Linked DNA regions of Homo sapiens: region 1 is linked to region 2. The links are contacts of gene promoters, found by promoter capture Hi-C in human tissues and cell types (Jung and others, 2019). All regions are on one chromosome and are shown on one strand. The core of a region is centred on a gene start or on the middle of the fragment in contact, and the rest is flanking DNA. Distances in the headings are between cores, read along the strand shown.

The links. Contacts are between HindIII fragments. The study calls those that stand out against the background at their distance.
Region 1: a contact is called between a fragment that was not itself captured here and the fragment with the promoter of JAKMIP2 in region 2, in 1 of the 25 tissues and cell types used here (hippocampus).

The regions. Positions count from the first base shown.
Region 1 is chr5:147,611,288-147,616,464 of GRCh38, forward strand. JAKMIP2 (janus kinase and microtubule interacting protein 2) reads right to left here. Exons shown (of 22, transcript NM_001270941.2): 20 at 1,019-1,084. The region is part of intron 3 of JAKMIP2-AS1 (JAKMIP2 antisense RNA 1); the gene reads left to right. Among named protein-coding and RNA genes, the nearest start is that of JAKMIP2-AS1, 54 kb to the left of the region's middle. The HindIII fragment of the contact is 7,560 bases long and covers 1-5,177 here.
Region 2 is chr5:147,780,430-147,785,512 of GRCh38, forward strand. It overlaps JAKMIP2 (janus kinase and microtubule interacting protein 2), which reads right to left and starts at 2,299. Exons shown (of 22, transcript NM_001270941.2): 1 at 2,027-2,299. The HindIII fragment of the contact is 11,129 bases long and covers 1-5,083 here.

The DNA of each region.
Region 1 (5,177 bases), core at 896-3,395, 170 kb before region 2:
TGCTTGAAACCCAGGGCCCTTGTGGTGTAGGCACCTGAGGGAATCTTCTGGTCTGTGGGTTGTGAAGACCATGAGAAAAGTGTAGTATCTGGGCCGGAGTGCACCATCCCTCATGGTGCAGTCCCTCATGGCTTCCCTTGGCTAGGGGAGGGATTTCCCCGACCCCTTGCGCTTCTTGGGTGAGGCAACACCCCACCCTGCTTTGGCTTGCCCTCCGTGGGCTGCACCCATTGTCTAACCAGTCCCAATGAGATGAACCAGGTACCTCAGTTAGAAATGCAGAAATCACCTGCCTTCTGTGTTGGTCTGGCTGGGAGCTGCAGATGGGAGCTGTTCCTATTCAGCCATCTTGCTCGGGAATTCCAGGCTTTGGCTTTTTTTGTTGTGCAAGCCTGTGTAGCTCGCTGCTGCTTGTTCAGCATCCCAGCCTGAGCTCTGTCTGTTCTCCCACCCCACACGCATTTCCAAGTGCCCTCTGTAAGAGCCATGTTGTTATATCCCTCAAAAACACTGGCTGACTTGGAAGAAGCAGCCACTCTTTGAGATCACTGGGGAAGTGACAGGACAACATGATTATCATATATCAACCCAAGTTTCTGAATTTACTGTTAAGGTGAAACTGCAGCACAAGGATGAAAGGTCTTTTTATGAATGATAATGGGAAAGGTAAAACAAAGGTGCTAAAAGATTTTTTTAAAAAAAGAGCAAAGTAGGGTAACAAAACTTGAAGAAACTTTTGGAAAGGAAATGAAGATAAGGAAGGGGAAACTAAGGAAAGAAAACACAGAAAAAATAGGAAAGCAACACAAAAGACAAATATGTGAAGGCTGGGTTACTGATGGCAGACGCTTTGCTGGCATTCTGTTTGACTGAAGGTGAAAGCTAGGTTTACTGTAACTATACCTGCCTCTGCAAGACACACAATAACTGAGAAGCCAGGAAGAAAATACAGTGAGCAAAATCAATATTGCTTTCTGATTAAACAAATAATAAGATAGTTATTGAATTTGACACCTACCTTTTCTTCTAAGTCTTTTATTTGTCTTTTCTGGATGTCTGTTTTATCTTCTAAGTCACGAATTCTCTGAAGAAAGAAAAGAAAAGAAAGAAAGCATCAGTAGGTGGTAAGTTGTGCGGAAAAATAATTTACCAAATGAAAACACGAAACTTCCTATACAAACCTGAATATTTGTACAAGCAGCTGGAAACATCGCATGTATGTTTTCCCCACCCAAAAACATGTTGCATGTTTCAGAAATTATCTATGTTTGTGGTAGAAAATCATTGCTACTGATTAACTTTTCAAAAAATATTTGCCACCTTTTCTACTGAGCCTATCCCTGTAGACCCCTTCCTAGTGAGGTGTAGATTCCACACCACTGACATTGAGTTTGGCAAAGAGACTTGTTTTGGCCTGTGGAATGCAAGTTGGAATAAGATTTGGGAATATCAAATCCTTGTAGAGGGTGTAGTATATCTCAGAAGTAGACAGCAAGAAACAAGCTTTGTTATGAACCATTTGGATTGAGATTTTGATTGTTTGTTACCACATTAAAGATGGTTGAGGCTGACTCATATAGATGTAAACAATCCAATTGTTCTTTCTTAACCTTTTTATCTTAACCCCATTTCAACCCTGTTTCAGGATAGAATTTTCTCACAAAATAGAATTGGTAAATTCACAAAACAAAGTAGAGATTACACATCAACAAACATTCCCAGGAGGGAACTGGTAAATTAGGAAAACACCAGAATATAACAAACATAACACAAGTAATCCTAAAGATGAAAAGTTCCAAGACTGTCTTTGAACTTACCTCTCAATTATGTAACAAAATTCCACTAATTTAAACACCGAATATTTGAAATCAACATTACATAACAACTATTTACAAGTAAAATAAAGTCTTCACATTTATATCTGGCAATCTGAAGGTTTTTTTGTGTTCATGTACATGGTTATATAATGCAGGCTTCTTATTTAATACCTCTGTAGGGAATAATTAGAAAATAGAGAAATGGAGTCTATGGAGAAAACACTAGAAGCCAAATGGGATGATAATATAGAAAGAGAGGTTTTTATAATGCAATGGTAGGAGAAAAAAAGGGAAGCTAGAACAAGGGGTACTTGAACTTGGAAAGCATATCTCCTTCTCTTTAAAAGAGTAGATCTCAACTGTTTGTCTCTCCCTGCCCCAGCCAGGGACATTTGGCAGTTCTGCACATTTTTTTAAAGTTAGTTAATATGTTTATTTATTTTAAGTTGTGTAATTCAGTGGTTTTAGTATATTCATAAAATTGTGCAACCATCACCACTATCTAAATGTCTTGACATTTTTGTACTGTCACAACTGGGAGTATGTGCATCTAGCATCTACTGAGTAGAAGCCAGGAATGCTACTAAACATTCGATAAGGCACAGAACAGCCACCCCTCCCCCTAAAAAAGAATAAAGAATTATCTGCTTCAAAATTTCAGTAGTGCTGAAATTGAGAAACTCTTCTTTAAAGTAAGGGGGCTAAGGTTTGTGCAACAAGAGATGGTGTGTTTTGGTCAGAGTGAGACCATAAAGGTTAACCTTGAAATTATACCATAATGAATGCCGGAGAAAGGGATGGAACTGGAATGTTGATGGTGTGTTTATACGTGTATGATTTGTGTGCTGGTGTATATTTCCATAGTGCTGTCAGTGCTCCATAGCTACACAGTAAAAGAATAAATTTGCTAGATATTTCCACCTTGAGTGTTCACGTAATTCCTTGGCATGTCTGCTGGATATGGAGGCAAGTACTATATGGACAAAATCATGAATATGTAAAATTACTGCAGTATCCATTCAGCCATCACATCTATGCTTGTTGGGCACCTCCTTACATGCTCATGACTCTGCTGAATGTAATGGACAATACAGATAAGGCACCAGTTAGTTCCCAGTTTCAAAGAACTATCAGATCCAGATGGAATAGCAAAACTAAATAGAAAAGGTAAACAATGGAAAAAAACTGAATAACTTTGTCACCCATCTCCAATTCCTAGTGCAGTGTTAAGCATGGAGAAGGTGTCCACACATATTTTTTTGTCAAATAAATGTGTTATGCTACATCATATGACGTATACTTGATTTCTTTTTGCTTCCCATCCCTTTGCCATCCACCCAACAGAAAACCTTGCTGGATCTAAAACATTCCTTTTCTACCTACTTCTTTTTATCTCTACTGATACCAAGTTCACCAAGTCATTGTCTTCCCTTGTCAGGGCTGGTGTGGCAGCTTCTACCTGCTCTTCCTGCCTTTTATTTTGACCATCTTACTCCATCAATAGCAGCCATTGTGAACTCTCAGAATGTAAAAATGATCTCCATGGTCCCCTGAGTTTAAGCGGGTGGGGAAGAAAAGAAGGAAGAGTTAGTTGAGTTGTACTCAGAATAAAACTCAAACTCCTGCAAAGCCCTGTGTGATGTGGCCCTTTCTTAGCTCTGCAACGTCTCCTCCTATCAACCTCACTCTGGCTCTGCGTGCTCCTGACATTCTAGCCTTTGCTCTGTTCCTTGACTATTCCAAACTTATTCCCATGATAGGGACTTAGCCCTTGCTGTCCCTGTCTTCTGGGACACTTGGCCAAGATCTTTGTGTGGCTCATTTCTTGGATCGTAGGTATCTTCAGAGAGGCCTCCTCTGACCAGCCAACCTAAAGTGGCCAATCCTACTCCCAAACTCACATACACATTGTATACGTTTCTGCATAGCACTTATTGCCACTCTCAGAAATTGCCTCAGTCATTGTTCATTTGTTCTGTGGCTCTGCCCCTGTCCCTCTGTGAGATAGATGAGAGTAGTGATCTGTATGTCTTTGCTTACCATTATACTCCCAGCACCTGGTACACAGCAGGCCCTCAATAAATGGTTGTGAATGAGTGCATAACAGAATATAGAATGTAGATATCTTGAGCAGTATGTGGTTCATTTTTAAAATTTTCATCAGGGAGAGGATCCTGAATGGGTTGGATCTTAAACTGGGACTGGAAAAATGAGAACACTTGGATCAATGCAATGGAAACTAATGGACACTTTAGGATGAGCAATTATGCAACAAGGGCTTAGAGGTGGAAAATCACAGCACAAGTGGGACCAGGATGTTTTGCATGAGTGGAGAGGGAAGTATGCTCTGGGGTTGGGTCAAATCTGGTTTTGGAGGGCGGGGTAGTCAGCTACTGAAGGACCTGAAGAGACCTGCGTAAGACTCTACTCAACTGGAAATTGGATCATGGAGGCTTTGAGGCAAGAATGTACCATGAGGAAAAATGAGAAGAATCTGTGATGAGATGTGTGTTGGATTGAAAAGGGGAGAGCTAGAACTAGGTCCTCATGGCACCTGCATGTACTTTTAAAAATGCTATTTATTATGATATATCATAATTATTTTTCTTTGTGTTGATCATTTTATAACCATCTATGGGTCCTTCGTTTTGTGAAGGCAGGGTCCACGGTGAATTCTCTGTCTAGCACAGTACTTAGCACCTAGGAAAAACATTTAAAAGTTTGACTGAATAAATGCATAGATGATGGAGTCAGATTCACACAGAGAACATTTGGCAGTACCTGGAAGCTGGTGGAATAATGAAAGGTCCTGCACGTGCCTGGGGTGACAAAAATGAACAAAATGGACCAGTATCAAAAACATTTCAGGGGAAATGCCAGTTGGATGTGGTGCTGTATTAATGCTTACAGGGAAAGAACAGAGAAGACTCCAGTGTTTCTAGCCGGAGTGATTTGAGATATGGTAATTCTACTGACTAAGACAGGCAGATGGGGAGAGAGAAGAGAAGTAAGGATAAGAACGCATCAGTTCACTCTTAAACATTCAAGCAGAACGGTGTAATACATGGTTAGTGATATACTTTAGAAGTTAGAGTGTATTACATAGTTATATATAAAAAATCCTGGCCAATATCTTCTGGAATAATTCTATGAAACTCAGCTATTAATTAAAAGGGAAGAAGAAGAGTAAGAAATAACTGGGAAAGGCATATTCTAATGAACATTTGTTTAGAAGATGGATGGAAAATGTCAATGAAACTCCCTGAGGTTCAGAAATGTACTATCAGCACTACTGGATAACTTAAACAAAACCAACTCTTTCAGAGGTGAAGTATCTTAGCTAAATGGTTAAAGAAATAC
Region 2 (5,083 bases), core at 1,049-3,548:
ACTAGTACAAATCTTAATTTTTTAAGTGTGCTATAGGCATATCTAACATTTTAATTTTTGGAAGTCAAGTGTTATCACTAAAAGATTCAGGATGCAATGTGTTATACAATTTGTTATAACATACAAGCCCAGTACCTCTTTCCTTGCCCTACTTCATATAGTTGTTAAAATTAGGCACAAAGTAGCATGAGTTTACAAAGCTATGGATCTATAATATATAACATGCTATGAGCACATGCACAATTGAGTCACCAAGGGCCCTTCTCATGTATAAACCAAATAGAACAATTATTCTCAGCAAAATTAAACTATAAACCTGGTTCAAATACATGTGAAAATTATAAATGTGGGGGGTGTATGTAGAATCAGATGCAAGACTAAAGACCCAAACAATTGTTATTTTACATTGTAAAAAATGTCTGTACTGACAATGATATTGTTAGAGAAGAGAATAATGGATAAAACTATAATAGCCCATGTGGTAAATGTAATATTACTAATACACTTTACCTACATAATTTTTTCTGGCTTTAATTCAATGAAATCCATTATCCTGGGCGGGAATGGAACCTCCTCATCTCACGCATCTTTAGTCTCCTGAACTGCCTTAAAGCCTTGACATAATAAAAGGTCAAGCAGATCCCAGTAAGCATTTGTAAATTACAATAGACCCCCATTTCAGCTACAAGCCACACATTCTCCTGCTCGCTTTGCTCACTCTCTGGTTTCATTTCATTGTATAAGCAGACTAATTTGGAAACGGCTGGGCTAGGGTGCTTGGGAATACCTAGATTTTCAAAACAATCCTACTTTCCTACTTAATTATTTACAGAAGGAGACCCTTAATACAACATCTGAGAGAACTGTGAAATGGTTCCTGGATACTGAAGGAATGAACATCAGATAGCAGCACTATTAAATAAAATGAATACATTTCACCTTCCAGCTTAGCTGTGCTTCCTGGGACACAAGGCACAAACATGAAAAGGTTGGGGTGGCATTTCAAGAAAACTGATTTGCTTCAACATTGATTTGGTAAGATGCTAGACACAAAATAATACCACAAACCGCCTCCCATTCCCATCATTGTAAATTCAGAGTCCTCAATATCATCCCCCACAAACCCAATTAAAAATAAAGAGGCAGGCTACAAATTTGCATCTAGTTCTATGACACAGATCAAACGATAGGCATCTGTTCCAATCGGTCACAATGAAACTAAGGGACAATAACCAGAGTAAATTTCACATTAATCCAAATAAAGCCAATGAATAATAATATAAACCAGAAGCATAGTTTCAAAAACATGCAATTACTTCCAGGCATGCAAGGACATATGTAACCCATAAAAATGGTTGCAAAGCACACCCTACATATAAATATGCTTCATAAATGCAATATAAATGCTAAGTGACATGTGTATATATGATCTGTATATCCATAAGATATACATGTGTAAGTTCACAGTCAAATCTACGTATAAAATAAAACTGGGTCTTGCAAATGATTTCTCAACAAGAGTATATTAGAATATAAAATAAAATGTCAAATTCTGGGGCCACTTTTTCTAAGCAATCAATAAAATAAGCAAAACCACCTTATAATGAGTCTGGTAAGCTTATGAGACACCAAATGTATTTCTGAAGAAGGCCCAACCCTGTATGTGAGAGCTGCAAATGAAATGATTCCTTTCAATAACACCCTCTTCTTGTTGTTAGCTCTTTTTCCAACCCCTGATGCTGTTGCTAAGCTTAGGAAAAAAGGCACCAAGTGGCTCAGTCTGCATTCTGAGCCAGTTAGAGATAAAATCAGAACACCATTTTTTTTTTTTAAACACAAGAGGTTGTCTTCTCACTTCTCTCTTCCTGGCAAGCTTCCTCTCCCTCCATCCTCATCTCTGTCTCCACATCTCCCCCTTCTAGTCTGAGGCACGGGAGTCATTGTTCAAGTTCAGGCCAGAAATGTATACACAGGTCAAATAAGAACACTCTAAACCAAGAAGGGAGCCCTACTGTTTCCTACTCACCATGCTGAGACCCGGAGAAGCTGTTTAAAGGAGGGAGAGATGCAAACTGAATCCATTTTCCTTGTGACCGAGTCGGATGCAGCCTCCGAACCCAACATCAGCAGTGGCTGCCGGTTTTTTTTTTCCCTCTGTCTCTGGTTGGCGATGGTGCGAATAGGAACCACCCTTCCAGCCCCACTAGAGTATCAGCAATAGAGGCGGCGGCGGCGGCAGCAGCAGCAGCAGCAGCATCACCAGTTGGGCCTCCTCCCTCTCGGAGGATGGGGTGAGCTCGGAAGCAGCCAGGAACTTGCAGCAGACACCTCCTCTGGCTCCTCCTCTCTCTCTCCCCCTCCCCCAGTGCCCCACCCCTGCTGCGGTAGAGGCTGCTGGCCCGGCAGCTGCTGGTTGCCATGGCAATGACCAATGATAAGCGACCAAGCTCAGGGGGAGGGGAGATGGGCGAAGCAAGCTGCAGGGTCTGGAGGGGAGTGAATTTGTGCTGCTGCCCTCTAGGATGCTCTTGATGTCTCCTACCCTGAACTCCAGGTCTTTTTAAAAATGGGGCAAGGGGGGCTAGGCACGGGGAGAGAATAATTAAAATTTAATTGAAATCTAGATAGAAACATACCAACGGCTTAGCTATTTTTTGCATTTTCTGTGGTTTTCCAATAAAAAGTATGAAATTTATTATCAGAAAAATAACAACAAATGTGGAGAAAATTATGTCGCATAATAGCAGATTATTATTACTTCCAAACGTGTTCGTCCTTTATAGCATCTTTTACTCAATACCAGGCAACAAGGTTTTTAGAAAGCAAACGGAGTGGCTGGACTTTGTAATAAATTAAGAGTCTGGTTGATTCCTTTGCACTACTCCCGGCTTGTTCTCAGGTGAGTTACTTGGTTTCACTGTTTTTCCAGCTACCCTTCTGAACAGGACTTGGAGGTAATTGACACATCCCTGAGGAAAAGTAAGTTTGGATAGAGACCGAAATTCCTTTCAACAACCACTATTCTCGGTAGCACAAGTTGGTGGACAGTTCCCAATCTTTTTAGTGTCAAACTCCTGGAGCATTCAATTTCCTGCAGGCAATTCCTGTCGTTTTCATGGATGCCTTTTTGGAGTTCCGAAGTCAGTTGGCAGTCAGGGTGGTGGGCAGGAAAAGGGGGAAGTGAAATCAGCAATGTCCAGTTCTAGGCGAGTTCTGTTTCTAACTATAAATTATAGATGACACCAGTATTTATCTCGTGGAGGGGTTGTAAAGATTGAATGAGATAATGCACTAAAAGCACTTGGCATATAGTAAGTGTACAATAAATATTTACTATTAGCAGCATAGTAGTACATTGCAGCCATCTCTTAATCTAAGGGTTTAAGGGGAATAACATGGCAATTTCAGGTAGGAGAAAAAATTAAGATGAGAAAATCCAAAGTACGTAATAACCATGATGATGATGGCAAAGACAGAGAGGCCCTAAGAGATTAAGTGTTCTCTACATCTTGATATTTGAGGACATTGTAAATCTCAGAGGAGTTAGATACATTTCCCAAATTCACAACTGATAAACGACAGAACCGGAATCAAAATGGACTCTTCTAACACTTACATTTGCTCTCCTAACCACCACACTTTTCTGCCACTCCTCCATAAAATGGAAATAATCTTTGTTCTTAATCCACAGAGTTATTTACAGGTTCAAATGGGTTTAACACAAGTTCCAGAGTCAGACGATCTAGGCTCCATTCCTAGCGCCAGTATTTACTATAGGTATAATCTGGAACATATTTATTAACTTCCTCAAATCTATGTTTCTTCATCTGTAAAAAGAAATAATCACAGAACCTCATGAGTCATTACAAAAATTAAACTAGATGACGTGTGTAAAATGTACGGTCTTTAGCAGATAGGAAATGTTCAATAAATGTAGCTACAGTTACTTGTTACTCATTTGTAAGTAACTAATATTAAAACATGAGAAGACTTTTTCCTGCATGGTGTCACTCTTAATGTCAGGGGCTTCTTCTAATAAAACTGGCTTGAAGATAACTAGGTGATGAGGAAAGAGTTGCAGCAGTTCCCCAGCACGTGACACTGGCTTTCCATCCACTTGGTGGGAAAGCCTGCAACCTCCTTTGTGCAGCTAGTGTCCCCTGCCTTCTGTCAAAGTCTCAGCAGCCACACAACCTGCACACACTTCCAAGTCAGCATCACCTATGTGTAATGTGTAACATAAAGGAATGGGATGTGATCATCTCGCTTCTTTTTGTATTCCTGTATTTTATCTTCTGCTTTCTCTGCAGAGATGTTCTTGTAAGTAAGCAGACCAGGAAGCTGCAGGCTGTAGAAGTTATGACACACTAGATGACAGAACCCTCCACACTGTCCTCGGGACAGCATTTCATCCTTAGCGCTAGGAGCCAAATGTCTAGGGGTGGGTGATTCTAGTTTTTCCTCTCCTCCCATCAACATAAAACAGCTGGTCAAGAGTCAATTGGTAAGAGAAAAGTTTGGTGTTTCCTATCTGAAGAAGTATCCAGTTTAACCATTCAAATACAACTTACTCATTTGTTTTTGGTCACGTCCAGGCAGCACTGTTATCATTATTTAATAATAGTTTTCCCTTATTTGCTTTAATTATTTATGATTTACTTGATTTGCTATTTATTCATTTTTTAATGAAATGTTTCTCTGACTTCAGCAAAACATAAATGAAAATTGACATGGTAAAGATAATGGACCCATATGAAGGAAACGAAAACAAATTCTTAATTTTTTTAGTAAAACAAAGACTTCAACTTTATTTATAATAATTTTTAATTTAAAAAGAAACATTAAAACTCTCACCTCTCTATTACCATCCCCTCTCATACCATGTTCTATTTTTCTATATACTATATATAAAATTAATATGAATAATATACTATGGGATAATATAACATTGCTTAATGTGGCATGCTATACTATAATGTGTACTGTATTGTATATTAGTAATATACTGTATTATTCCCTATTAGAATGTAAACTACGAGAGGGTAGGGATTTTTATTTCTGTGTTTTTTTGTGAATGGTGTCT